Linked DNA regions of Homo sapiens: all the other regions are linked to region 4. The links are contacts of gene promoters, found by promoter capture Hi-C in blood cells and fetal thymus (Javierre and others, 2016). All regions are on one chromosome and are shown on one strand. The core of a region is centred on a gene start or on the middle of the fragment in contact, and the rest is flanking DNA. Distances in the headings are between cores, read along the strand shown.

Region 1 (5,044 bases), core at 307-2,806, 3.9 Mb before region 4:
AAAAAAGATTATTTAAATCACCCGACATCCTACCGAATTCCACAATTCTTAAGATTTCCATCTAATTTCTTCTACATATTTTTGCCATTCATAGGTTTTACTGGAAGGCTGCTGGGACTTTTTTTGGGGCGTTTTCATCATATCAGGTATACAATTGTGTATCCTGATTTCCTTCCACTTAACACTATCATAAGCATTTTAATATATTTTCTTCATAAACGTTTTTAATGGCAATGTTATTTGCCACTAAATATATGATATAGGGGATGTATCATAACCATTCTGCAAACTGTGCCCATAAATATAATTCTACAATATACATATTTTGTGCAGAAAGCTTTTCTCTGTATTTAAAAATATTCTTTTGATGGTTCCTAGACCATCAAGAAATGTAAATAATTTTAAGACTCTTGACACATATGGCCAATGTAACATAAGAGTGTGTCATTTTTACCACATCCTTTTAGGTACTAGGCACTGTATATTTTTGTCTAAATCTAGACCTTCATGAAATTGGTGAGAAATTGTAACATCTTCCTTACAAAAGTAAATGCCCATTGTAAAAAAAACTGAAGCAATGCAAACACATGTGATATGAAAAACCAGTCTCCCCTAGGCTTTTCCCATGAAGTAATCAGAATTAAATGTTTTCAGGTATTCTAGTCTTTTTCTAATTCTTATTCAGAATATATATATATACACACACTCACCCTTCATTATTTTGTTTTGTATCTTACAAAAAATGAGATTAAGCTTGCTTTTTTGGCTCAACAGTATATTCTAGACATCCATACAGGCTATGTCAGTACATACAAATCTACCTCTCTATATAAAAAACTAATAGGCTAGACATGGTGGCTCATGCCTGTAATCCCAACACTTTGGGAGGCCAAGGCGGGAGGATCACTTGAGGCCAGGAGTTCAAGACTGGCCTGGGTAACGTGGTGAGACTCCGTCTCTACAAAAAAAATTTAAAAATCAGCCAGGTGTAGTGGTGTGTGTGTGTGTGTGTGGTCCCAGCTACTTGAGAGGCTGAGGCAGATCACTTGAGCCCAGGAGGCTGAGGCTACACTGAACCACATTCCGTACCACTGCACTCCAGCCTAGGCAACAGAGCAAGACCCTGTCTCAAAACAAAACAAACAAAAAATCCCACAAAAAACAAAACGCTACTTGATATTCCACAGTATATGGGTACCAAAATTTATTGTGATTATCTTCAATTTTTCATTATAAATGACGCTGCAATAGACATTGTTTATATTAACGTATGTTCTCCTATGAAAATAGCACAGATTCCTTGAAGTGTAGCTGCTAAATCAACGTGTACTTTTATTTTGATAAAATTCTGCCAAAATTGCCATCTAAAAACTTGGAAAAATTTTATGTCCCAACAATGTATTAGGTGCCTCTTTTACATCGCTGGATAGTTTTTAATTTTTGCCTGATGCCCTCCTCCCAACAAAAAAATCTAGTTTTTAAATTTCCATTCTCTTAATCACAATGAGGTTGAATTTCTCTTCACTGTTTGAACACATTTATCTAAGAACTATTCATATCCTCAATTCATTACCTAATTTGTTAATTCTATTTATTCTTTATACATGCTACAGGTTGTTTTCCCAGTCTGTCACTCTGTAACGCTTTTTGTCACAGAATTATCAACTGTGATTATAGTCAAATTTATCAATCCTTTCATTTATGATTTTAGGTCTTGGTCTTACCTAAATGGCCTACCTAAAACACATCATTTCCAGTGTATCCTTCTACATAACAAATTCTCTTATATTTCCTTCTAATGCTTTTATAGGTTTTTTTAGTTAGTTCCTTAATCCATCTAAGTTATTTTGAATGTGAAGTAGGATCTTTCTTTCTAAATAAAGAGCCACTTATCCCTATACAACACACTGAATTATAATTTCCCAACTGTTGCAAAACACCAACTTTATCATATACTAAATTCTGATATAAAAATGGGTCTGTTACTGGATTCTACTTTGCTCCAGGCGTCAATCTGTCTATTCTTGTGTTCACCATTTATATTACTGCAGCATTTCAGTATGCTTTGACTTCTCATATAGCAAATCCCCCAACACTACTTTTCCATTAAAAACGTTTGTCATTTTTTGGCCATTCTAGGACATTTACTCCTATAAAAGAGTTTTAGAAGCAATTTATCTAGTGTCCAGAAGAATTCCCACTGGGATTTCAATTGTAATTACATTGAAATCATAGTTTAATTTGGAGGTACTGCAATCTACAATGATGCCTTCCCCTCCAGGAACAAGTCTGCCCATTTATTTAGGTTAGCTTTTAAATCATTTAGGTAAAAGTTTTTACTTCTCTTCATAAAGCTTTGGTACATTTATGTCTTACTTGTAAATGTTTTCTAGTTTTGCTGCTATTCAGAACAGAATCTAACTTTTCTATACGGTAATTAGTGATTTGATTATTAATGAATTACACAGCTTTTCCAATGTTTCACAAGTTATATTTCTATCCAGCGAACTGTCTATTCACATCCTATAACCACCTGTGTGTGGATCTTCATTATTTTCTTCACCAATTTGGATGAGTTCTTTGCATATTGAAAATACTAACTCTTAGCTTATCATTTGCCACAAATATTTTCCACTTTATGATTCGGGTTTTTTTTTTCCCTTCTCTTCCTAAAGAATAAATTTTTATGTAGTCTAATACACTAATTTTTAATTATTATTTTCTCTATTGTTTCTAATAGCAGCAGCTACTTACAGATTTGAGTGCCCTGTAGGTGCCTGGCCCTTTATCTCTTACTCTCATAACACCTGCAAAGTGGGGATAATTTTCCTCACTTAAAAGATTCCAGTTTAGACACATCTGAGTCTAAAGCATGTGCTCCATCCACCTTAGCATGTAAAACTCCTCTTTCCAGATGTTTAATATTTACTTACATTTTCTTTAGACTCAGGGGGCATTTGTGATGATTTCATTATTATTTATGACATTTCCATATAAAAAAGTTTATTTCTGGGGTGCTGAATAAGTTCCATTGACCTGTATGGATATTTTACAGCCAGAACGATACTGTTTTAATGAATGTGGCTCTATAATATGTTTAAATATATTTGTCTCACCTCATTACTCATAAGTATTCTACCACGTTCACCCCAAAATGAGCATCTCCATAACATGCAGACATCACAGCCCGGAAGATGGCCTCTCTTTCCGTTCAAGGTACCCCTTCAGACCTTTCAGGATACTTTATGGTCTCCTCCACAGAGTGCACACTTGACTCTATAAGGTTGTGCCTACACGGTTCACTTGTTTTGCTGCAACCTGGTCAGAGCCAGTTTCTTGTTTAGGGTTTTTTTTTTTTTTTTTTGGCCATTTTAGGTTCTAGTAGGTTATTTCTGGTATTCAGAAAGCTATTAATTTTATACATATACTAATACATGGTCACTCCATCAATTTTTTTGTCTAATAATTTTTGTTATTGTTTTCATAGTCAATAGCATCTACAAATATTTCCCTTCATTTTAGAGCCTCACTTCACTCCTATCTCACATATTACCGCTTTGTCAAAACATACAAACCTTGTTAAATAATGTCCCAATTTTTAATTTGACTCTCTGATACTTTTAAGTATAGACAACTAGTTTAACATTTATGTGTACTTTTTGCATACCAAGTACCTTTTTATTGCTTTTATTTATCCCCACTTCTTAAAAATTAGAAACAAGGATTTGTGGGGGTTTTGTTTGTTTTGTGAGACAGTCTCCCTCTGTTGCCCAGGCTGGAGTGCAGTGGCATGATCTCCGCTCACTGCAAGCTCCACCTCCCGGGTTCACGCCATTCTCCTGCCTCAGCCTCCCGAGTAGCTGGGAATACGGGTGCCTGCCACCACGCCCAGCTAATTTTTTGTATTTTTAGTAGAGACAGGGTTTCACCGTGTTAGCCAGGATGGTCTCGGTCTCCTGACCTCATGATCCACCTGCCTCCCAAAGTGCTGGGATTACAGGTGTGAGCCACTGTGCATGGCCAGGATCTTTTTTTTTTTTAATCAAACATTGATTTGACCTTAGTGTAGCTGGTAACGTGAGGTCAATGTGAATTCCAAGGGAAAGCTCACGTCTCTTCCAGGCAGCCCTCTGAGATGGCCAACCTGGTCTCCCCACTTCTACTCTCCACCCCCAACACGCCCCCACATCTTGCATGCAACGACTAGAGTGGCTGTTTAAAGATACAAATCTGATTATGTCACTCCTCTTCGTAAATCCCAACCCATATCATGGTTTCCCATTTCACTCGGGATAAAATACAACCACTTTAACCTGCCCTACATGACCCTACTTGATCTGGCCCCTGGCCTAGCCACTCTTCCCCTTCACCTCCATAGTCTATCCACATTCATTCTTTCAGTTCCTGGAATGGGCAAAGCTTTTTCCCCACTTTGAGGCCTTCCCACATGCTGTTCCTCTGCCTGGAAAATTATCCCCCACTTTCCTCCACACTAACACCTACGCACTCTTCAAATCTCAGCTTAAATCTTATTTATACAGAAAAGTCTTTCCTAGGCCCCTTCTCTCCACTCTAAAATTTGGTCTCCCCTTTTTTATACTCCCTCATAGCAGGTGCTTCTTAACTTTCACAGCAGATACCAGTTTGTGATCATACGTGTAGTTGTGATTGTGTTTAAATTCCAATCCCCCTCACAAATCATAAGCTTCAAGAGAACAAAATAAGTTGATTTTGCTGGCCACACTACAGGCACTCATATATATCTGAAAGAAAGAAAAATACATAAAAAGCCCCTAATCGTATCTCATACATCTTAAAATGTTACCCATCACATCATTCAATCATTATTCAAATGATTAAAATATTAAATCTCAATATTAAAACTCTGATGCAGCCTGCAAATTTAGTAACAATCCCTTTTCCCTGAAGGACATAAAAGCTAATCTGAATCTGCTGCTGCCACAGAAAAATACATGTACAACTTACAACTCTAAGGAAATAAGCTTAAATATTATAGTGCGAGTATTGTCTAGTGTTCAGTTTG
Region 2 (4,724 bases), core at 1,095-3,594, 3.3 Mb before region 4:
GCAACGCCGGGCCCTCGCCGCCTCGGGGACCATTCAACACCGAGGCGGTGAGACCCGTGACCTCTCCGAGGGGCCCGCGCAGGCCCCGCACAGCCTGGGACCGCGGCCACCTCCGGGGAAGTAGGGTCTTGGGCTGCGGAGACGCCACGAAGGCGCAGTCAAACTTTTCCGAGGTCAAACACCGCCAGGCTCATGGCGGAGCCGTGTGGGCGCCACTCCCAGCCAGGCGGCAGCAAAGGAAGCGGCCCGGCCGGGCGCCCCGGGCGGGTACCCGGGGTCGCCCATGTGCTCGCGGCCCCGGCCCGGCGGGCGCGCCGCAGGGGTGCGGGGAGGGTGCCTGCTTACCCCGTCGGTGCGGGGCCTCCCCGGGCCCCTCCGCTCCACCATCTCCGGGCCCGGGGCCGTCGCTGCCACCGCCGCCGCCGCCGCCGCCGCCTCCACCGCGCGGGGCTTGGACATCTTCCTGCCTGGAGAAGGGGACCCGGGGGAAGCGGGGGAGGGGGCGCTCAGGGCGCGGCGGGGCGGGGAGCGGGGCCGCCCGGGCCGGGCGCCGCGACGGCGCCTCCCGCCGCAGCCATATTTCGAGGCCCCGGCTCTGGTGAGCCGCCCGCGCAGCCGGGAGGGCCGGGCCGGAGCCCGCGTCGCCCTCCCGCCGCCCGGCCCGGCCAGGCCCCGCGCGCCGCCCGCCCCCCGCGCGGCCGGGCCCGACACACCCACCTGCAGCCCGGCCAGGCCCATGGCGGCGCGCCCCGCGCCCTCGCCGCCGCCACCAGCGCCGCCGCGGCGCCCCGGGGAAGGGCCGGCGGCGCCCCACGGCGCCCCCTTCCCCCATGGCCGGCGAGGCAGGGCCCGGCACCCGCGCACCGCGGCAGCCCCGGGCCGCCCGGGGCGAGGCACGAAGGGAAGGAGGCGCAGGCGGCGCGTCCTCCGCAGCCCTCCCGCCCGCTCGCAGCCGCCCACCGTCCGGCGCCCGGCCCGGGGAGGGGGCTGGTAGGGGCGGCGCCGCCAGGCCGCTCCGGAGGGCGGGCGGGCGGGCGCGGCGAATCCCGGCTCGGGCGCGCCCCCTCTCGCGCGGCCTCAGCCACTCGCGGAGGAAGGGGTGGGAAACACCGTCATGACAGCCCAGGCTCCCGCCCGCCCTCCCGCCAGCCCGCCCGGCTCCTTTTTCCGCTGGCTCTGCGGATATTTTGGGAACCCGGTCTGTGCCAGACGAAATCAGCAGCGGTGAACGCGCCAGGCCAGGCCCTCGGGTGTGCCCGGCGCTGTGCCCACCGAGAGTTTCACAGGCATTGAATCCTCCCCGCACGCCCACGGGGGCAGGTCCTGTCGGCATCCCAGCTTACAATGGTGACACTGTGACTCAAGGGATGTGCAGGGGTTTGTCCCGGGCCACAGAACTAGGAAGTGATGGGGCCAGGTGTCAAACCCAGAAGGGCTGTACTTGACCGGTAGGAAGCCCTGGGGAGACAGAGCCAGGGGTTATAATGATCGGTTTCCTGGGCGAGTCTCTTGCCGTTATCTCACTGAAACCTCACAGCAGCCCTGCAAAGGTAGACACCATTATTATCTCTTTTCAACAGATGGAGAAAGTGAGGAGCTTGGCCAAGTTCTCAGAACTAGATGGGTTTTCAGCCCCAGCCAACTGACCCCAGGGCCTTGCCCTCCCAGCCACTACCCTTCCTGGTTACAGATGAGGAAATGGAGTTTGGGAGAAGCAAATGGTCTTGCAGAAGGGTTTAACATGTCACCTTGTTCTCCTATCCCGCCGTGAGAAAATGCCCCCATAGGCAGACGAGGTTCCCGTCACTCTGGTGGCTGTTTCAGCATAGCTCACTGCCCTGCACCACTACTCTGTGGCCATTAAGGCTTGAGGGCCCACAGCCAGATTCACTGTATTTGTGCAAAGTCATAGATGCAAACAAGACACTTCAAGGCATCCAGCTCCTGCAGCCTGGCCCATGGCCTGGGAGTCAGGGGCTGGACTTATTTCCCTGCATCTGCCCAGAGGTGTTTTGTGACCATCGCCAAGTCACTTCCCCAGTCTGGGCCTCAGTGTCCTCATGGGTAAAAACCAAGAACCTTGAATTCCATAATCCACCAGAGCACCTTCCAACATCCACAGATAAGCAAATGGCTGTTTGTAGCCATCCTCCCACCTAGCCTCCCTCGACTCCCATTGGAACGGATAAGACTGAGTAGGATTAGGTGGTGACAGGTCACTGCTCAGACAATCCCTCCCAAATCAGCTCATGCTTTAGCATCCTTCAAGGCAGGGTCTCCAGCCCAACCACTAACTCCAGTGGGCTAGGTACTCTGCCTATGCCCTCTGCAGAGCCTACTACAGTTGAATATCCAAAAGATTACCCAGAGGGTGAAAGAGGATTCGAAAGTGACACTCTGATAACCAGGTTGAGCCATTTGAAAGCGTCTTCTATTTCTGCAAGGCAGAGAAGTTTTGCAGCTTAACTGCCATGAGAATCATGGTTTTGGAGCAGGAAGCACCCACATAGATCATCTTATCCATTTCACATTCTAGTATACCGAGCCACACCCCACGCCCCACTCATGGTCATAGCTTTCTCTGCATTTGAGCCCCCAATTGCAGGGGACACATTACAAGTCTAGCACCTATTCCTCTCAATTCTGCAGCTCCAGTACCTAGAAGATGTAAATACAGATCATTCAATGTAAGTTTCAAAACAGTCCTTTCTCCGCAAGTTTATACGTATATAACAAATACACCAGCTGGGCGCAGTGGCTCACACCTGTAATCCCAGCACCTTGGGAGGCAGAGGAGGGCAAATCACCTGAAATCAGGAGTTTGAGACCAGCCTGGCCAACATGGCGAAACCCCGTCTCTACTAAAAATACAAAAATTAGCTTGGCGTGGTTGCGCATGCCTGTAATCCCAGCTACTTGGGAGGCTGAGGCAGGAGAGTCACTTGAACCCAGGGGGGTGGAGTTTGCAGTGAGCCAAGATTGTGCCACTGCACTCTATCCTGGGTGACAGAGTGAGACTCTGTCTCCCAAAAAAAAAGAAAAGTCTGTATTTTTGGAGACCCCCCCACCAGGTGCTAAGGGATAATGAACTGAAGATGGCAAAATGAGGAGGGCAACCAACCAAGAGACCATTCAACAATGGCAGTAGAAATAGTGAAAGGTAGGTGGACTGACCCCTGAGACTAATATATTGGGGTTGTAAATATTTGCATGATTATAAAACTTCAAAATGAGTGAGGTGTTGCCTGGCATCTGACCAGTTTGTTTCTGTGACCCAGCAGGGCTCTCAAAGTGAATTGCAAGTTCAAAGCCCAATTTTCTAGAAGAAAAAGACTGTTCATTTGAAGTGCTGTAAATGATTTGGTATTTACAATTCTAAATATTGGCCAGGCGTGGTGGCTTTTGCCTGTAATCCCAGCACTCTGGGAGGCCGAGGTGGGCAGATAACCTGAGGTCAGGAGTTCAAGACTAGCCTGGCCAACATGGCGAAACCCCGTCTCTACTAAAAATACAAAAATTAGCTGGGTGTGGTGACAGGTGCCTGTAATCCCAGCTACTTGGGAAGCTGAGGCACAAGAATCACTTGAACACAGGAGAGGGAGGGTGAAGCGGGCTGAAATCACTCCACTGTACTCCAGCCTGGGTGACAGAGAGAGACTCTGTCTCAAAAAAAAAAAAAAAAAAAAAAATCTAAATCTAAATATCCAATTTAATAGCTTGCAAGGGCAGTAAAGCCTAAGAAACAGGTAACTACTAATTTGGGGGTCAAGTGAGACAGTGAGAATCAATAACTAATAATTACATAGGTGATTTGTAAGCTGCCATGGGAGGAGCTGACAAACATTATCTTCGCTTTGGGTAAGTAAGGGAGGTTGGGTGGCACAAGCAAAGACCCAGCCAAGCTAGAGTCTGGACAGCAAGTTTGGACTTCACGCTTCCTCTTCCAAAAAATGAGAATAACAATTTGTAAAGATCAATTGAGTTAATAAAGTGCCTGGCCCTCAGTGGTAATTATTATTATTTTGTTATTGTTCTTGTTTGTTTTTTTGAGATGGAGTCTTGCTCTGTTGCCCATGCTGGAGTGCGGTGACGTAATCTCGGCTCACTGCAAGCTCCACCTCCCAGGTTCAGGCAATTCTCCCTGCCTCAGCCTCCCAAGTAGCTGGGATTACAGGCATGCGCTGCCATGCCCGGCTAATTTTGTATTTTTAGTAGAGACGGGATTTCTCCATGTTGGTCAGACTGGTCTCGAACTCCCGACCTCAGGTGATCTGCCCGCCTTGGCCTCCCAAAGTGCTAGGATTACAGGTGTGAGCCACCATGCCTGGCCATAATTATTATTTAGTCATATTTTAAGTATTTCAATGATAGATGGTTAGTTTTCTTCATATATTAATTAATGCACTACTTTTAAAACAAGTAGTTTAAATGATTTTGCTGTGATGAGAAAAATGAACCCAGGAAGCATAGTTTTATTAAAATTTGTCAGATAAATTAGTCAGATAATGTTAAATATACTTTTAGATGCTTAACACTTTTCAAAGGAAAAATATTAGTATTAATTTTCTCCAAGAGTTGAGTGATGAAGCTCTTTAACCTGAAGTTTACTATGCCTCATTTTTTCATCAGGCTCTGGGTAAGTCTTATCCCAAAAGAACCTCTAGGGATGCTAGGAGAATAGATGATGCAACTGACTTCAGGGCCTGAAAACAAAGGGACCCAAT
Region 3 (4,735 bases), core at 1,074-3,573, 4.8 Mb before region 4:
TTTTTTTTTTTTTTTTTAGATGTGGTCTCCCTCTGTCTCCCAGGCTGGCGTGCTGTGGGATGATCTTGGCTTACTGCAACCACTGCCTCCTGGGCTCCAAAAATCCTCTCGCCTTAGCCTCCCGAGTAGCTGGGACTACAAGCGCTCGCCACCACATCCGGCTAATTTTTTGTATTTTTGGTAGAGACGGGGTTCACGCCATGTTGGCCAGGCTGGTCTCAAACTCTTGGCCTCAAGTGATCCGCCGACCTCTACCTCTCAAAGTGCTGGGATTACAGGCATGAGCCATGGCGCACGGCCATAATAGTTCTTTTGGGAGGAAAAAATGTCTTCCAGCTGATATGCAAACCTCAAAGTCACTGAAGGTTGGTATGGTTTTAAAGGATGAGAAATCAGAGGTTTCTGGGTGAAGGTACAATCAAGCCAATGCCCTTATTTGTTGGAAAGAAACTCGATTTTCCTTCTCTTCTCTTCTGTCTGTGAAGAGGAACATTTAAGAATGGGTCAGTTTACATTTGTTCCTTGGTTCTGGTATCCGCTAGAATTTTAGTTGCAAGGTTATGAAGAGCTAACCTACTTGGGAAACATAAAACAATTTTTTGTTGTTGTGGTGGTTTTGCTAAACTCTAACACTCACTTAAACACACAAAAGTTTAATTTAGAAAATATCCTTGGCTGGGCGCAGTGGCTCACGCCTGTAATCCCAGCACTTTGGGAGGCCAAGGGGTGCAGATCACCTGAGGTCAGGAGTTCGAGACCAGCCTGGCCAACATGCTGAACCCCCCCCCATCTCTACTAAAAATACAGAAATTAGCAGGCGTGGTGGTGCACGCCTGTAGTCCCAGCTACTCGGGAGGCTGAGGCAGGAGAATCGCTTGAACCCAGGAGGCGGAGGTTGCAGTGAGCCCAGATCATGCCACTGCACTCCAGCCTGGGCGACAGAGCAAAACTCTGTCTCAAAACAAACCAACCAACCAAAAACTAAAAGCCTCTCGCACTCCCGTGTGTATTGCAGCTTTATTCATAAGTGCCTAGATGTGTCCGTCAACAGATACATGGATAGAGAAAATGTGTACATACGCAATAGAATACTATTCGACCTTAAAAAAATACAAAACAAAATGAAATCCTGTCATTTTTCCTCTACGAAACAAAAATAAAAACATGGCTAAGTTTGGGCGACATTACATAAAGTGAAATAAACCGGGCACAGAAAGATAAATACTGCATGATCTCACTCACGTGCGGAAGCTGAAATAGTTGGTCTCACAGAGAGAATAGTGGTTACTGCAGGTAGTGAAGGTGGGGGGAGGTGGGATAGCCAAAGGGGGGTTACTGGATACAAAAGTACAGCTGAATAGGAGGAATAAGTTCCAGTGTCCCTATAGAGTGAATACAACAACTTATTGTACGTTTTCAAATAGCTGGAAGCGTGGATTTTTAATGTCTCCCAGCACAGAGAAATGATACATGTTTGAAGGGATGGATGTGGTCATTGCCCTGATTTGAACATTACAAATTGTGTACATAGATCACAACATCACACCACACCTCATAAATGTGCACAATTGTTATGCGTCCAAACAATAATAAAAACCAAAAATAAAAATGAAACACGTGGAAACAGGAAAAACGCCTTTAAGAATAGAGTATAGCAAGGACTTCCAAAAGCAAGTACAGGAAAGGGAGGGGGATGTAGCTCAGTGGTAGAGCGCATGCTTTGCATGTATGAGGCCCCGGGTTCGATCCCCGGCATCTCCATTGTAGTTTTGTTGCTTTCTGTATTCGTTTTGGTCCGTGGTTCTTTATCATTAAAGTGCCATGGATGTGATTATCATAAGCATTGTGATTCCAGGCACTACTTGGAGCTCAGATTCTCACACCAGGTGTGATCTTCCCATTCTGAAATCTCTAATGTTTCAAATGCACATGAGTTAGAAGAGGCTGATGGGAGTAATCAGCAGAAAAGTGTTAAGGCAAAACCTGACTTGATGACTGAAACCACAGCAAAAGTGAGCAGGATGATCATTTGGGGAGTGTACACCACATCTCGTGCCACCATGATTGTACTGCACTGGCCTCGAGGGCTGTTGACGCATTCTTGGCCATCAGAGGGCAAGTGTGTAAGTTGCTGGAAGGTCTGGGCCCCCCTGTTTGCCATCTCACTCCTCCTCTGCACTGCCACGAACCACCTCATTTGCATGGGAGGAACCCAGAAGCAAACTCACATCCCAGCGGGGCTTTGCTCTCTGCTTCCTCAGCAACACGTCTCCACGGCTGTAATGCAAGTGCAATTTACATTTATATTCATACACTGTGTTCCGGGGTGAGCAGGCCTATGCAAACCTACCCCAAAGGCCAAGGGAGCTGAGAGGCCAAAGAAAGGGGTTGACAAACCCAGTTTCTCAGGAAAAAACATTTATTAGGGACTTACCAACAGAAGCCATAGTCTCAGGGTGGTCATCAGAGGATATAAGGTTTGCTGCGCCATAACCCCCGGCCCAGGGCTTCCATACCATAGGGAAGGAATATATGTAGGACAATTGAAGTTGACCCCTCAAGCAAGGCAAGAATGTTATGTGAATCCGCATAAGGGAAGGATTTATGATCTAGGTTGTTCTGATCTAAGGGCAGAATTTATGGTAACAGTAAAGTAGAAATCTTAGAGACCTTCCTGGAAGAGGCATTAATCGGAAGTTATCTTGGTGGATTAGCAACCAAGATGGAGTTGCTTTCACCTCCACTGTGTTTCTGTGTTTTATCACTGAAAGCAAAAGATGGTGGCTCAGGCCTGTAATCCCAGCACTTTGGGAGGCATGAGGCAGGAGAATTGCTTGAGGCCAGGAGTTTGAAAGCAGCCTGGGCAACAAAGGGAGACCTTGGCTCGGAAAGGAAAGGAAAGGAAAGGAAGGGGAAGGGGAGGGAAAGGGGAAGGGGAGGGGAGGGGAGATTGATTTACTTGCATGAATGATCTTTAGGCAAAAATAAATACATAAAAATAAATTATATTTTTTAAAGTTTAACCAGTTCCCAGCTCTCTAAATAATAATAAGAATGAAAGAAGGGATTCGGCTGCATTCTGTGGTACAGTTCTTTGCAATTATAATGAATTCCTCACCTGTCAGCCCCTTTCTTTCATTTGACTTGACTTCATGTTTTAAATGGTAAAAGCGTCTAATCCTAGATCTAGAGCTTTCATTTTTGAGATGAAGAAAATGAAACTTGCGAACTGACTCACCAGTTAGGTGGTGACGCATTGGTGACAGCTTGTTTCTAATGAGCTTCAGGAAAGGTTATTTCTCCCTAAATGTCAACAAGGTTTTAGGGGAAAATCATTGAAGATAATTTCTGAAGTCATCAGGCCTAACACAAAACTTACATGCTTCTGTAACTGCCCAACAGTTTCTCCTTGCCCGCTGCCTAGACAGAGCCCATTTATTAGGACAGGGAAACTGTGATCCGCCCACCTCAGCCTCCCGAAGTGCTGGGATTACAGGCGCAAGCCACCTCGCCCTGCCATAATAGAGAACGTTTAATTCACACACAGCTGGCAGTGTGGGAGACGGGAGTTTTACTATTACTCAAATCAGTCTCCCTGAAAACTCAGGGATTGGAGTTTTGAAGGATAATTTGGTGTGTAGGGAGGTCGGGAAATCGGGAGTACTGATTGGTTGGGTCGGAGATGAAATCACAGGGAGTCGAAGCTGTCCCTTTGCCCTGAGTCAGTTCCTAGGTGGGGGCCACAAGACCAGATGAGCCAGTTTATCAATCTGGGTGGTGTCAGTCGGCCCACTGAGTGCAGAGTATGCAAAATATCTCAAGCACTGGTCTTAGGTTTTACAATAGTGATGTTATCCTCAGGAGCAATTTCAGCATGGACAGAATCTTGCAGTCTCCAGCTGCGTGACTCCTAAACCATAATTTGTAATCTTGTGGCCAATTTGTTAGTCCTGCAAAGCAGTCTAGTGCGCAGGCAGGAAGGGGGCTTGTTTTAGGAAAAGGCTATCACCTTTGTTTCAGAATTAAACTATAAACTAAGCTCCTCCAAAGTCAGTTCAGCCTACACCTAGGAATGAACAAAGACAGTTTGGAGGTTAGACGCGAGATGGAGTCAGTGAGGTCAGATCTCTTTCACTGTAATAATTTTCTGTTATGACTTTTGCAAAGGCAGTTTCACTTCTGTTTTACTTTGTTTCTTCTTTTGTTTATTTATTTATTTATTTTGCTTGAGACAGGGTCTGTTTCTGTTGCCCAGGCTGGAGTGCTGTGGTGCAATCACAGCTCACTGCAGCCTCAAACTCCTGGGCTCAAGTGATCCTCCCACCTCATCCTCCTGAGCAGCTGGAACTACAGGCATGCACCACCGCCTGGCTAATTTTTGTTTGTTTGTTTTGGTAGAGACAGGGTTTCACCATGTAGCTCAGCTGGTGTTTAACTCCTGGGCTGAAGTGACCCTCTCACGTTGGCCTCCCAAAAATGCTGGGATTACACGTGTAGGCCACCATGCCTGGCTATTTTTTTCAATATTTTTTATTTTTATTTTTTATTTCTTACTATGACCCCACACTTATATGACATTACTTTGTACCTTATAATTAAATATTTCAGCCAGGCACATTAGCTCATGTCTGTATTCCCAGCCCTGTGGGAGGCCAGGGCAGAAGGATCACTTGAGCCCAGGAGTTCAAGACCAGCCTGGGCAACATGGTGAAACCCCCATCTCTTATTTTATTTT
Region 4 (4,999 bases), core at 170-2,669:
GTACAGGCAAAGGAAATTCACTGGGGGGCACTTATTCATTCAACAAATATGTGTTAAGCATTTTAAGGTTACCTGTGAAACTAACAGGGGTTACCTGTGAGGAGTGCTTCAGAAGGAAAAATAGTAACTTGTACTTTTCAGTAAACTTCTGCACATAATTTTAAGGACGAACATTGTTTTTTTTTTTTGAGACGGAGTTTCGCTCTTGTTGCCCAGAATGGAGTGCAATGGCGAGATCTCAGCTCACTGCAACCTCCGCCTCCCGGGTTCAAGCGATTCTCCCGCCTCAGCCTCCCGGCATTGCTTTTTATAAAGTCAAAAGAAAAGGAAGTTTGATAAAACAAGTAGAACTATCCGATAAATACTCGCCTGGAAAGGGACAGGATTATAAGAAACAGGTAATAAGGAGCTTAAAACCCTCTGCAGTTCTGCAGTGAGGATGGTCGTGGGGGCATACAACTTTCCGTTTCAGGTCAGTTTAGGTAGGGCAGGTGGGAACTCACTCTAAAACGAGAAACCGGGGCTGATGACAAAATGCACACGTTTAGCTTCTGGCGGCCCAGGTCTTCCTAGCCGCAGATTCTGAGACGTGTATCTGCAGGTGGTGTGAAATTGAAGCCGGGGGAGCGGTTGCTTTCGGTCTCCGAGGTGCGCCTTGCACACTGGGTCATTCAGCTCCCAGGCTCGGCTCGGAGCTGGACCACTCCCTCCCCTCCACCAAAGAGGCAATGTGGGCTCCAAGAGGTCACAGCGCTGGGATGGGATTTCGACCCCGCGCTGCCCTCAAAGGCCACCTCCTCGCAGCTCTGCTCCCGCCGGCAGCTCCCGTTCTGTCCAACTCGGAAGCCGCCCGCCGCCCTCGGCGTCCACTCCACAGGCCCGGGGCCGGGGCCAGCTCCGCGGGGGAGGGGTCGGTGCGGAAGGGGCGGGGTACCGGGCCTTCCCCGCGCGACTCTGCCTTCTACGGCCCCGGCCCCTGCCTCTGGAAACCCGGAGCTCGTGCGAGCCCCGCCCCACGGTCGCGGCGTGCCTGTCATTTCCTCTCCGCAGGGCGTGCGGGTCTCGAAGATGAGGGAGCAACAACGTCCACGACCGGGCTTCTCCGGCACCTTGGGCTTCTTTCCGCTGGGACTCGACAGCGGCTCGGCTCCGCAAGCTCTCAGCGCCCAGGGTGGCGGCGACGACGCTCCCCGAGGAGACGCGAGGAAGACGGGCCCGCGCTTGCTGGGACTCCGTCAGGGCGCGTGCGCGACCCGGGCGCGGCCGGCTCAGGCTGCGGCTGCGCAAGGCGGTGCCAGACGCTGCGCCTGCGCAGTGGTGGGGCGGGGCGGGAAGGAGGGAGGCGGTGGTAGCGGCGGCGGCTGCTGAGGAGGAGGAGGGGGAGCGGAGGGAGGTGTTTCTGTCAGTTCCGGCTGTTTGTTCGGGAAGTGGATCCGCCGCTGCCGGAGCAGCCCGAAGGGAGCTGCGGATCGCGAGGCCAGTACCGACCCCGCCCGCCCGCGCGCACCGCCCCCGCCCGCCATGGCCCGGGACTACGACCACCTCTTCAAGCTGCTCATCATCGGCGACAGCGGTGAGGGCCGCAGCGGCCGGAGGCGGCGCGGGCCCTGCCGGGCGCGGCCCGCGGGGGCCTCGGGGCGGCAGGCGGGCGGGGAGGTGCCGGCCCGTGCGGGGCGGGCGGGCGGGGCAGCCCGGCGGTCTGGGCCCCAGGGGTGCGCCGAGGGGCTCCGGACCGCGCCGAGGGGAGGTTGGGGCGCGGGGCGGAGGGGCCAAGCGCGCCGGGTCCAGTCATCGCGCCTGTTCCTGCCTCACGTGTGACCTTGGTCAAGTCGCGCGATCTCTGGAGTTGGAGAGACGTGGGTTCGAGTCTCAGGACTACCACCTGCCTCGCGCTGACCTTGGGCAAGTTGCTTCGCCGTCCTGAGCCTCAGTTCCCTCATCTGAGAAGTGGGGATGTGCCTTGCTGGGTGGTGTGAGGATTCGATGGGATAAAGTAGGAAAAGTGCGTAGCGCCCTACCCGGTAAAGTAAGCTCGAAGTAAATGTTCACTATTGTCATTATCATCAGTATCCTTTATAAGCGTCAGTTTCTTCCCATCTAAAATGAGGACGTTCTCAGAACCTGCCTCATGGGATTGCCGTGAGGTTTAAATGAGGTAAGTCGGATAAAGGGCTTTGCACAGGGTCTGGCATATTCCTGCTGAATTATTATATCCCTGCGTGGTTCAGTTTCCTCATCTGTAAGATGGAATGATAGTTGGATCTGCCTTATGGGGTTGATGTGAGTATTAAGTGAGATTCTGCAGTGTTGCTCACAGCTCCTGGCACATAGTGAGTTGTCACTGTTTGCTGTTACACTACTATATACAGAGGGGTCCTGGGGATGGGACAGCCAAAATTATAAAAGTGCTTTGGCCACACACACACACTGCTTGAGGGCTCCTAGCTCTGATCACTGCTCTAGCTCCAGTGCCTAGAACAGTGCCTGGCACCCAGTACATGCTTAAGACATATTTGCAGAAGGAATTAATGAATATTAAGTGTCCTTCGAAAAGGTAGACTGGTTTCTGGGAAAAGGTGGAGGGTTTTAGAGCTGTTTGGAGTGTGGCAGGTGAGCAGGTTTATGGAGTGACCAAGAGGTCAGGAAGGCAGGCCCCAGAAGGTTTATGGGAGCGAAACTGAGGTGCTGGGGTTATATGATGTTCATGAAAGAGTCTTGGGAGCATGCTCAGTTTGTAGACCAGACCTGAGCTGAGTGTGGGGAGGGATGTCTTATGATTGGAGGCAGAGGCCAGGCTGGTGGTAGAGCCCATGGACTGTTAAGGAAAGGGGATCAAATCAAGTGAGCGGTATGACTTGGGATGTAGGAGTGTTGGGTAGCGATGTCAGAGCTAGGTCAGGGAAGTGGGTGGTTTTGGCCTCCCTTTTAAAGCTGGATGGAGATGTGGTTGGTGGTTTGGATCAGGTGAAGGATGGCTGAGGTTTCCGTGGTTGCTGGAGGAGGGGAGAGGTAAGGGGGAAAGCTGGGGGCTAACCAGGGAGATGGAAGAGTAACTGAGGTTGGGGAAGGAGGTAGAAAGGTGGAGTACTGACTGGTTATGGTTTGAATGAAGGGAAACCAGGCAAGCTCTGGAGTGTTCTCTTGGAGATGGCCTTTGGTATTCTTCAGGGTCTTGAGGCTTCTTCCTTTACATGATTTCCTTGCAGCCCTGGCCTGGGTTCTGAGGGACTGGCACTGGGGCCATTTCTCTCTTTTTGGAGTGACAGCCCGCCGTGGTCAGGAGCCTTTATCCCTCTGCAAGACATCTGGACCTCTGCGTTGATATCCAACAGTGAAAAGCCTAAACTCAGCAGGAAGATGCAGCTTGTTGGCTCTTCTCCTCTGTAAAGCCCAGGGGATGGGTTTGGCCCGCTTTCTCACAGTACATTTTGTGTGATGAATTGATTTTTCTCTCCGAAGTCAGGTGTGGGAGAAGACTCATTGGGTCGAGATTTATGTGGTCTAGCTCCTAGGTCAGCCATGTAGGCGTAGGTTGTGCAGAGGAGATGGATGCTGTGCTCTTTGATTTCTCCCGACATTGAGATCCTCAAAGCTGGGAGATGGTAGCCATGGAAGTCCAGACTAAGCTTTGGCAGCTGAGCCCAGAGACTGACATTACACACTCCCCTGAACTGGGCTCCTTGTGTGAATGCCTCCTTAAGATATGTTGAACGATTTCACAGACGCTTATTCTCACCCGCCCCCTGTGTGATTTGTCAAATAAGGAAACTAAGGCTTAAGGCCGGGCGCGGTGGCTCACGCCTGTAATCCCATCACTTTGGGAGGCCAAGGCGGGCAGATCACCTGAAGACAGGAGTTTGAGACCAACTTGGGCAACATGATGAAACCTCGTCTCTACTAAAAATACAAAAGTAGCCGGGCATGGTGGAATGTGCCTGTAATCCCAGCTACTTGGGAGACTGAGGCAGGAGAATCGCTTGAACCTGGTAGGCGGAAGTTGCAGTGAACCAAGATCGCACTATTGCACTCCAGCCTGGGCGACAAGAATGAAACTCCGTCTTAAAAAAAAGGAAACTGAGGCTCAGAGGAGGTGACTTACTTGCCCCAAATCACATAGCTCAGCAGGGGCAAAGCCGGGAGCCACTGCATCTCAGTGCTAATACGTGTGCGAGCAGCTCATGTCAGGGCTGGCAAACAATAGGCCCTCCATGAATGCTGGTTTCTTTCTTCATAAATCTAGAGTTCTGCCCACTCTGCACATTGTGGATGCTTCTGCAATGGATTCCCTCAATCTCTGCATCCCTTCGTTATGCCGGAGGTTCTATATTTTCTTTTTTTCCTTTTTTTTTTTTTTGAGACGGAGTCTCGCTCTGTCGCCCAGGCTGGAGTGCAGTGGCGCGATCTCGGCTCACTGCCGGCTCCACCTCCCCGGTTCACGCCATTCTCCTGCCTCAGCCTCCCGAGTAGGTGGGACTACAGGTGCCCACCACCATGCCCGGCTAATCTTTTGTATTTTTAGTAGAGACAGGGTTTCACCATTTTAGCCAGTATGGTCTCTATCTCCTGACCTCGTGATCCGCCCGCCTCGGCCTCCCAAAGTGCTGGGATTACAGGCGTGAGCCACCGCGCCCGGCCAGTTCTGTATTTTCTATACTTTCCCTTATACTCTCTGACACTGGCTTTGATTTGTAACAGCATGTCGTCTGCATCCCTCAGGCCAGCCATCCTCATTTGGAGATGGAGTTAGCCCTTCACTTGACAGATGAGTAAATTGAGGCTCAGAGAGGGGGCGTGACTTGTGTGAGGTTATACAGTGAGGTGGTGGCTGAGGCAGGTTTAAAATTGAGAACATGGCTGGGGGCAGTAGTTTGTCCTAGTGCTTTGGGAGGATGAGGCGGGAGGAACACTTGAACTCGAGACCATAGTGAGAGCAACATAGTGATAGCGAGACCCCATCTCTTAAAAAAAAAAAAAAAAAAAGGCCGGGCACAGTGGCTCA
Region 5 (4,732 bases), core at 971-3,470, 3.1 Mb before region 4:
TCTCATTTTTTCTTTTGTCCCAAAAAGGCCTTCCTGCCAAGGATTGCGAGCTCTGTGGCCAACAGACCTGCGTTCAATGTCTCAATGCCACAATTTACTTACTGGGTAACTTTGGCTCTAATTCCTCATCTGTAGAATGGAGATACTACTACCTAGAGTGCGAACAAAATCATACATGTTGCCATAAATGTAAAGTACTTAGTGGTCACTAAATGGGAGCATGTCAGATCTCTCAACTACAAGGCTGAGGAACTTTGGAATGACACACCACATACACTGTTGTCTTATGACACAAACCCAGTCTGGGAACTGATTATTTCATCGGCCTTTGTTTTAGAGCTTAGGGTGAAAAGGCATCTACAACAGTGGCTTGTAAATTATTTTACTTGGTATGGTCCAATTTAAGAAGTACTTGATAAGCCATGACATTACTGAAAACATGTTATTTGGTGGGATCATAATTCTGGTCTGTGAAATCAGGTACTAAGGAGATCACTGTGATGCCAAAAATATAGCCTGACTTCCCAGCAGGTTCACACTGAAAGATAAAACCATCTTCAATGAAGTAAGTCCTGGTTTAAACATAAAATATCTTTTGGAATTATGTAATATAATTTAAAAAATCATGAAAGATAGGATAACATCAAATTTACCCTTTGAAAATTGCCAGGCGTGGTGGCTCATGCCTGTAATCCCAGCACTTTGGGTGGCCGAGGCAGGAGGATGACCTGAGGTCAGGAATTCGAGACCAGCCTGGCCAATATGGCAAAACCCCGTCTCTACTAAAAATACAAAAAATTAGCCGGATGTGGTGGCGGGCACCGGTATTCCCGGCTACTCGGGAGGCTGAAGCAGAAGAATCACTTGAACCCGGGAGGCAGAGGTTAAAGTGAGCCGAGATCGCGCCACTGCCCTCCAGCCTGGGTGACAGAGAGAGACCTTGTCCCCCCTACCCCCCTCCCCCACAAAAATAAAAAAAGTAAAAAAAAATTGGTAGGTATACTTAGGAAGCTCCAATGAGATGTAACGCCTCCTGGCAGATCTGTTATTCCAAGGGCAGATCCATTTCCTGGGTTGTGGAGGCCTAAGTGATAGTGCCAGGGAAGTCCCTTTACTGTGAGCCAGAACTCCTGGAGGTAAATCGAGTAGCTGGAAAGACCTTAAAGGTTAACTATGCTGAAGAATGTGGCCTGCACAGTGCGCATGAAATGGGCTGGGGTCCCACGGGGAGGAGAGCGAGTTCCCTTTGGTCCTTCAAAAGTAGGGCTGGGTGGCTTGCGCCTGTGATCCCAGCACTTTGGGAGGCCGAGGAAGGAGGATCGCTTGAGGCCAGGAGTTCGAGATCAGCTTGGGCAACACAGTGAGACCCCCCCACCCCACGTCTATTAAAAAAAAAACGAGTATCTCCGCAAAAGCCTAGCAAGGGCAGTGCTGACCTCTACTACGTGCCAGGCCTGAAACAGCACCTGATGCGTGCTCACAGCTCCATTCCGCTCAGTTTTGTACATGAGGATCCTTCCGTTTCGCCTTGGGCCTCCGTGGAACCGTTATCTCCAGGACGGTAGTCTCTCCTCTCCCCTGCCCTGAGTGCCTGAACAGCCCCAGGGCCGACCCACAGCACCTAGCGTAAACCAGGTCCCGAGAAAACTGAGCTCGGGTGTCACGGCCGGCCCCACCCCACCGCCAGCGCGGCCTCAGGTAAACTGGCTGCGCCACTCGGGGTCGCAAGTCGGGAAAAACCCAGGCGTCCCGGCTCGCAGTCCTCTCTCCGGAGCCTTTGACAGTCGTCGGCAGCCGTAGGGTTACCTGGCTTCTCCGCAGATGCTTACCTGGTCTCAGGACCCGACTCGTGCCCTCAACGTTCTAGGGATATCCAAATCACCTCAGCGGAGGATTCGCAATCGCGATCCCTGATCTGCGCACGCGCCGTACTCCGATCGCGGTTTCTCTTATCTACCAGAGGCTCATGTTTACTCACTGCGCATGCGAGAAACTGAAGCTTCTTTCCCTCGTGGCAGCGGCTGGCTCCCAGAGAGCCAATCAGAGAAGAGAGTTTCACAGCAATCCCGCCCCCTTGTCACTCCCCCGGGGTTGGATGTCTCTCTTTGGTTGGAGCTGCGCGAGGGGGAACGGCGAGGTGGACGCGCGCGCCATGCGAGGCTGTCTCCGCCTCCTTCCGGGCAGCCAATCACTGGAGAGACGCCGGGCGCGCGCGCGCTCCCTCGGGTAACGGTCGCGAGAGGCCGCTTGCATGACCCTGACATCGGCAGCGGGAGCGGCGGCCAGGTAAGCGGCCACCAGCCTGCAGGGAGCTGTAGGCCGCTGGGGACAGGAGACGAGACTTAGGAGACACTGTCTTAGCGGCCCCTTGAGTGTGGTGATGGGCTGGGGTGTGGGGTGACGGCTGCCGATTGGCCTGACCCCCTCGGAGCCCTTCGGCGTGTGGGAGCTCTGCCCGGCCGCGGTGCGCCTTTTCTAGACTCGGCGCCCTTGAGTGACACTCGCGCGGCCCAATCGCAGATCGCTCTTCCTGAGGGGCGGGGGGTTTGTGGGGTTTTTTTAATTTTTCCCCCCATTTTTTGCCAAGGTGCCCCGGTTTCCTTTTGGAATCGCGGTTGTAGTTGCAGGAGCGGTGGCTTTTCTCCGTCCTCCCTGCTTTCCGTAGCTTAGGCGACTGCATAGATTCTCCCTCTCCTTCCCACTTTGACCCGATAGCCGCCACCAGCCATTGCGGGCTGACTGTGAGCTCAGAATGTCGGGATCTGGCCTCATCCCCATCTGAAATCTCTTCCTCTCCCCCAAGCCTCCCGTCAAGGCGGAGCGCCCAGTTAACTTTCATGTTTCATAACCATCAATCGTTCCTTTTCCCCAGCTCCCTTTTTTTGCTAGGGGGTAGGGACACCAAAAGCGTCATATCTTGTTGCTGGGAAATATAAAAGCTCTGCTCTTATATTCATTCTGTATCAAGTTAAAAAAATTTTTTTTTGCATTGTATTTGTGGGTGTTTAAGGATTTTTCCCTCTTACTTCCCTGCCCTCCCCCCAGCACCTCCACCCCAAATGGAGAAGCATCTTTGAATTTCTAGTGGTTTTCCATCTGGATCTGCATCCGGATCCGGATTACCTTAGCAGGGGAAATAATAGATGGGGTTGCAGGTTCATCTCCCTGGAGAGCTTGTGTTTTCCTGGTGTAATAGCATGGTGATTGGAATCCAGGTATTTCTGTTGCCAGTTGGAAGGGGCAGTCCTTGACTGTTTCAATGCCCCATTTGTCGTGGGTGATGGGCTGAGCCACTGGGGAAAAGTCCATTTAGTTAGGTCCGGTTACCCTTTGCATTCACTCCTGTCCCTGAAGGAAATGGTCCCTGTTTTTGTGTAATGCTTTATAAAAGCAGGCCCTAGAAAGTGGGAATCTAGCAGAAGCGGAATACTAGATAATATTCCTGTTGCACTCTCTAAGCTTTTCAGTTTGTAAGCAGCTGAAGTTTTCTTTCTTTCTCCTTTTTCCTCTTGCTCCCTTGCTCTTTTATAAGTGCATGAATTCCCCAGGAAGGAGGCATCTTGTTTGACCTGTTACAGCCAATTTGCCATGGTATATATCCAGCTTCACTGAAATTTTAGTTGGCCTGGCAAATAATTTTTTTATTTTTATTTTTATTTTTTAAGAGATGGGGTCTTGGTCTGTTGCCCAAGCTGGAGTGCAGTGGCAGGATCATAGCTCACTGCAGTCTTGAACTCCTGGGCTGAAGTGATCCTCCCACCTCAGCCTCCAGAGTAGCTGGGACATGCTCCCAGTAGCTGCAGGCAGGCTCCAGTGTGCCCAGTGGTTTATTTTCTAAGAATAGCTGCACAGAGACAAAAGACCATATATATAGTTCAAAATGTACTTCCAGACAATGGGGAAGCTATGGTTGTTAACAGTTTAATTGGCTCTTTTTAATACAAATTAAATATTAAGTAGTTCAGTTCTTCTTGTCTCTGTATAAGTCAACAAACATATATACTTGGTAGAATTTATTAAACAAATGAACAAGGCATGCAAGTATTCCAATTGTTACATAATAGAATTATATCTAGAACTTTCATTGTAAAGCCTGGCAAAATGGTTTGCGCTATAATCCCAGCTGCTCGGGAGGCTGAGCACTTGAGGCCAGGAGTTGTAGACCAGCCTGGGCAACATAGCAAGATGCTGTCTCTAAAAAAAAGAACCTTGATTATTAAACATATAAAAATCTGAAATATTACCTGAAAAAGGTGATGCTACTTTTGCAAATAATCCTTAATGTAGATTTTTAATTGAGATACATAATTCACATACCATAAAATTCAGTCTTTTACAAGTGTACAATTCAGTGGTTTTTAGTTCACAAGGTTGTGCAGCCATCACCACTATCTAATTCCAGAATTTTTTATCACCCCAAAAAGAAACTCCATACCAGCTGCACTCACTCACATTCTCTCCTTCCCCAGCTCCTGGCAGCCATTTGTCTATGAATTTGCCCATTCAAGATATTTCATATCAATGAAATCATATAGTCTGTGGTCTTTTGTGACTGGCTTTTTTTACTTAGCATAGTATCTTCAGTGTTCATGTATGTTGTAGCATGTGTCTTTTTATGGCTGAATCCTATCCTGTTCTATGAATATGCTTCATTCGTTTATCCATTTATCCATTGATGGACATTTGGGTGGTTTCTACATTTTGATTATTATGAATACTGTTGCTATCCTTA

Evidence for each region. Contacts are between HindIII fragments. The CHiCAGO score rates a contact against its expected background, and 5 or more counts as called.
Region 1: a fragment that was not itself captured here is called in contact with the fragment with the promoter of RAB35 in region 4 in 1 of 17 cell types (naive B cells); the score reaches 7.3 in naive B cells.
Region 2: a fragment that was not itself captured here is called in contact with the fragment with the promoter of RAB35 in region 4 in 1 of 17 cell types (monocytes); the score reaches 5.1 in monocytes.
Region 3: a fragment that was not itself captured here is called in contact with the fragment with the promoter of RAB35 in region 4 in 1 of 17 cell types (M0 macrophages); the score reaches 5.5 in M0 macrophages.
Region 5: a contact is called between the fragment with the promoter of MPHOSPH9 here and the fragment with the promoter of RAB35 in region 4, in 1 of 17 cell types (total B cells). The highest score is 5.8, in total B cells.

What each region holds. Positions count from the first base shown.
Region 1 is chr12:123,975,783-123,980,826 of GRCh38, reverse strand. All of the region lies in intron 2 of ZNF664-RFLNA (ZNF664-RFLNA readthrough), which reads right to left. All of the region lies in intron 2 of ZNF664 (zinc finger protein 664), which reads right to left. Among named protein-coding and RNA genes, the nearest start is that of ZNF664-RFLNA, 5.1 kb to the right of the region's middle. The HindIII fragment of the contact is 1,601 bases long and covers 756-2,356 here.
Region 2 is chr12:123,385,176-123,389,899 of GRCh38, reverse strand. KMT5A (lysine methyltransferase 5A) reads right to left here. Exons shown (of 8, transcript NM_020382.7): 2 at 346-467. Among named protein-coding and RNA genes, the nearest start is that of KMT5A, 3.4 kb to the right of the region's middle. RefSeq lists silencers at 237-346, 767-1,126. The HindIII fragment of the contact is 6,467 bases long and covers 1-4,724 here.
Region 3 is chr12:124,918,781-124,923,515 of GRCh38, reverse strand. It overlaps TRA-TGC3-2 (tRNA-Ala (anticodon TGC) 3-2), which reads left to right and starts at 1,690; the gene lies at 1,690-1,761. RefSeq lists enhancers at 1,895-2,214, 1,781-2,459, 2,295-2,484, a cis regulatory region at 2,069-2,239 and a silencer at 4,313-4,462. The HindIII fragment of the contact is 6,001 bases long and covers 1-4,735 here.
Region 4 is chr12:120,113,173-120,118,171 of GRCh38, reverse strand. It overlaps RAB35 (RAB35, member RAS oncogene family), which reads left to right and starts at 1,419. Exons shown (of 6, transcript NM_006861.7): 1 at 1,419-1,573. The coding sequence starts at 1,522. It overlaps RAB35-AS1 (RAB35 antisense RNA 1), which reads right to left and starts at 1,265. Exons shown (of 1, transcript NR_182302.1): 1 at 1-1,265. RefSeq lists silencers at 353-531, 519-578, 669-1,018, 1,179-1,488, 1,589-1,718 and enhancers at 644-1,435, 1,436-2,228. The HindIII fragment of the contact is 4,184 bases long and covers 1-3,628 here.
Region 5 is chr12:123,230,629-123,235,360 of GRCh38, reverse strand. It overlaps MPHOSPH9 (M-phase phosphoprotein 9), which reads left to right and starts at 2,220. Exons shown (of 24, transcript NM_022782.4): 1 at 2,220-2,286. MTRFR (mitochondrial translation release factor in rescue) reads right to left here and starts at 1,925. Exons shown (of 3, transcript NM_152269.5): 1 at 1,830-1,925. RefSeq lists an enhancer at 2,208-2,447. The HindIII fragment of the contact is 1,460 bases long and covers 2,002-3,461 here.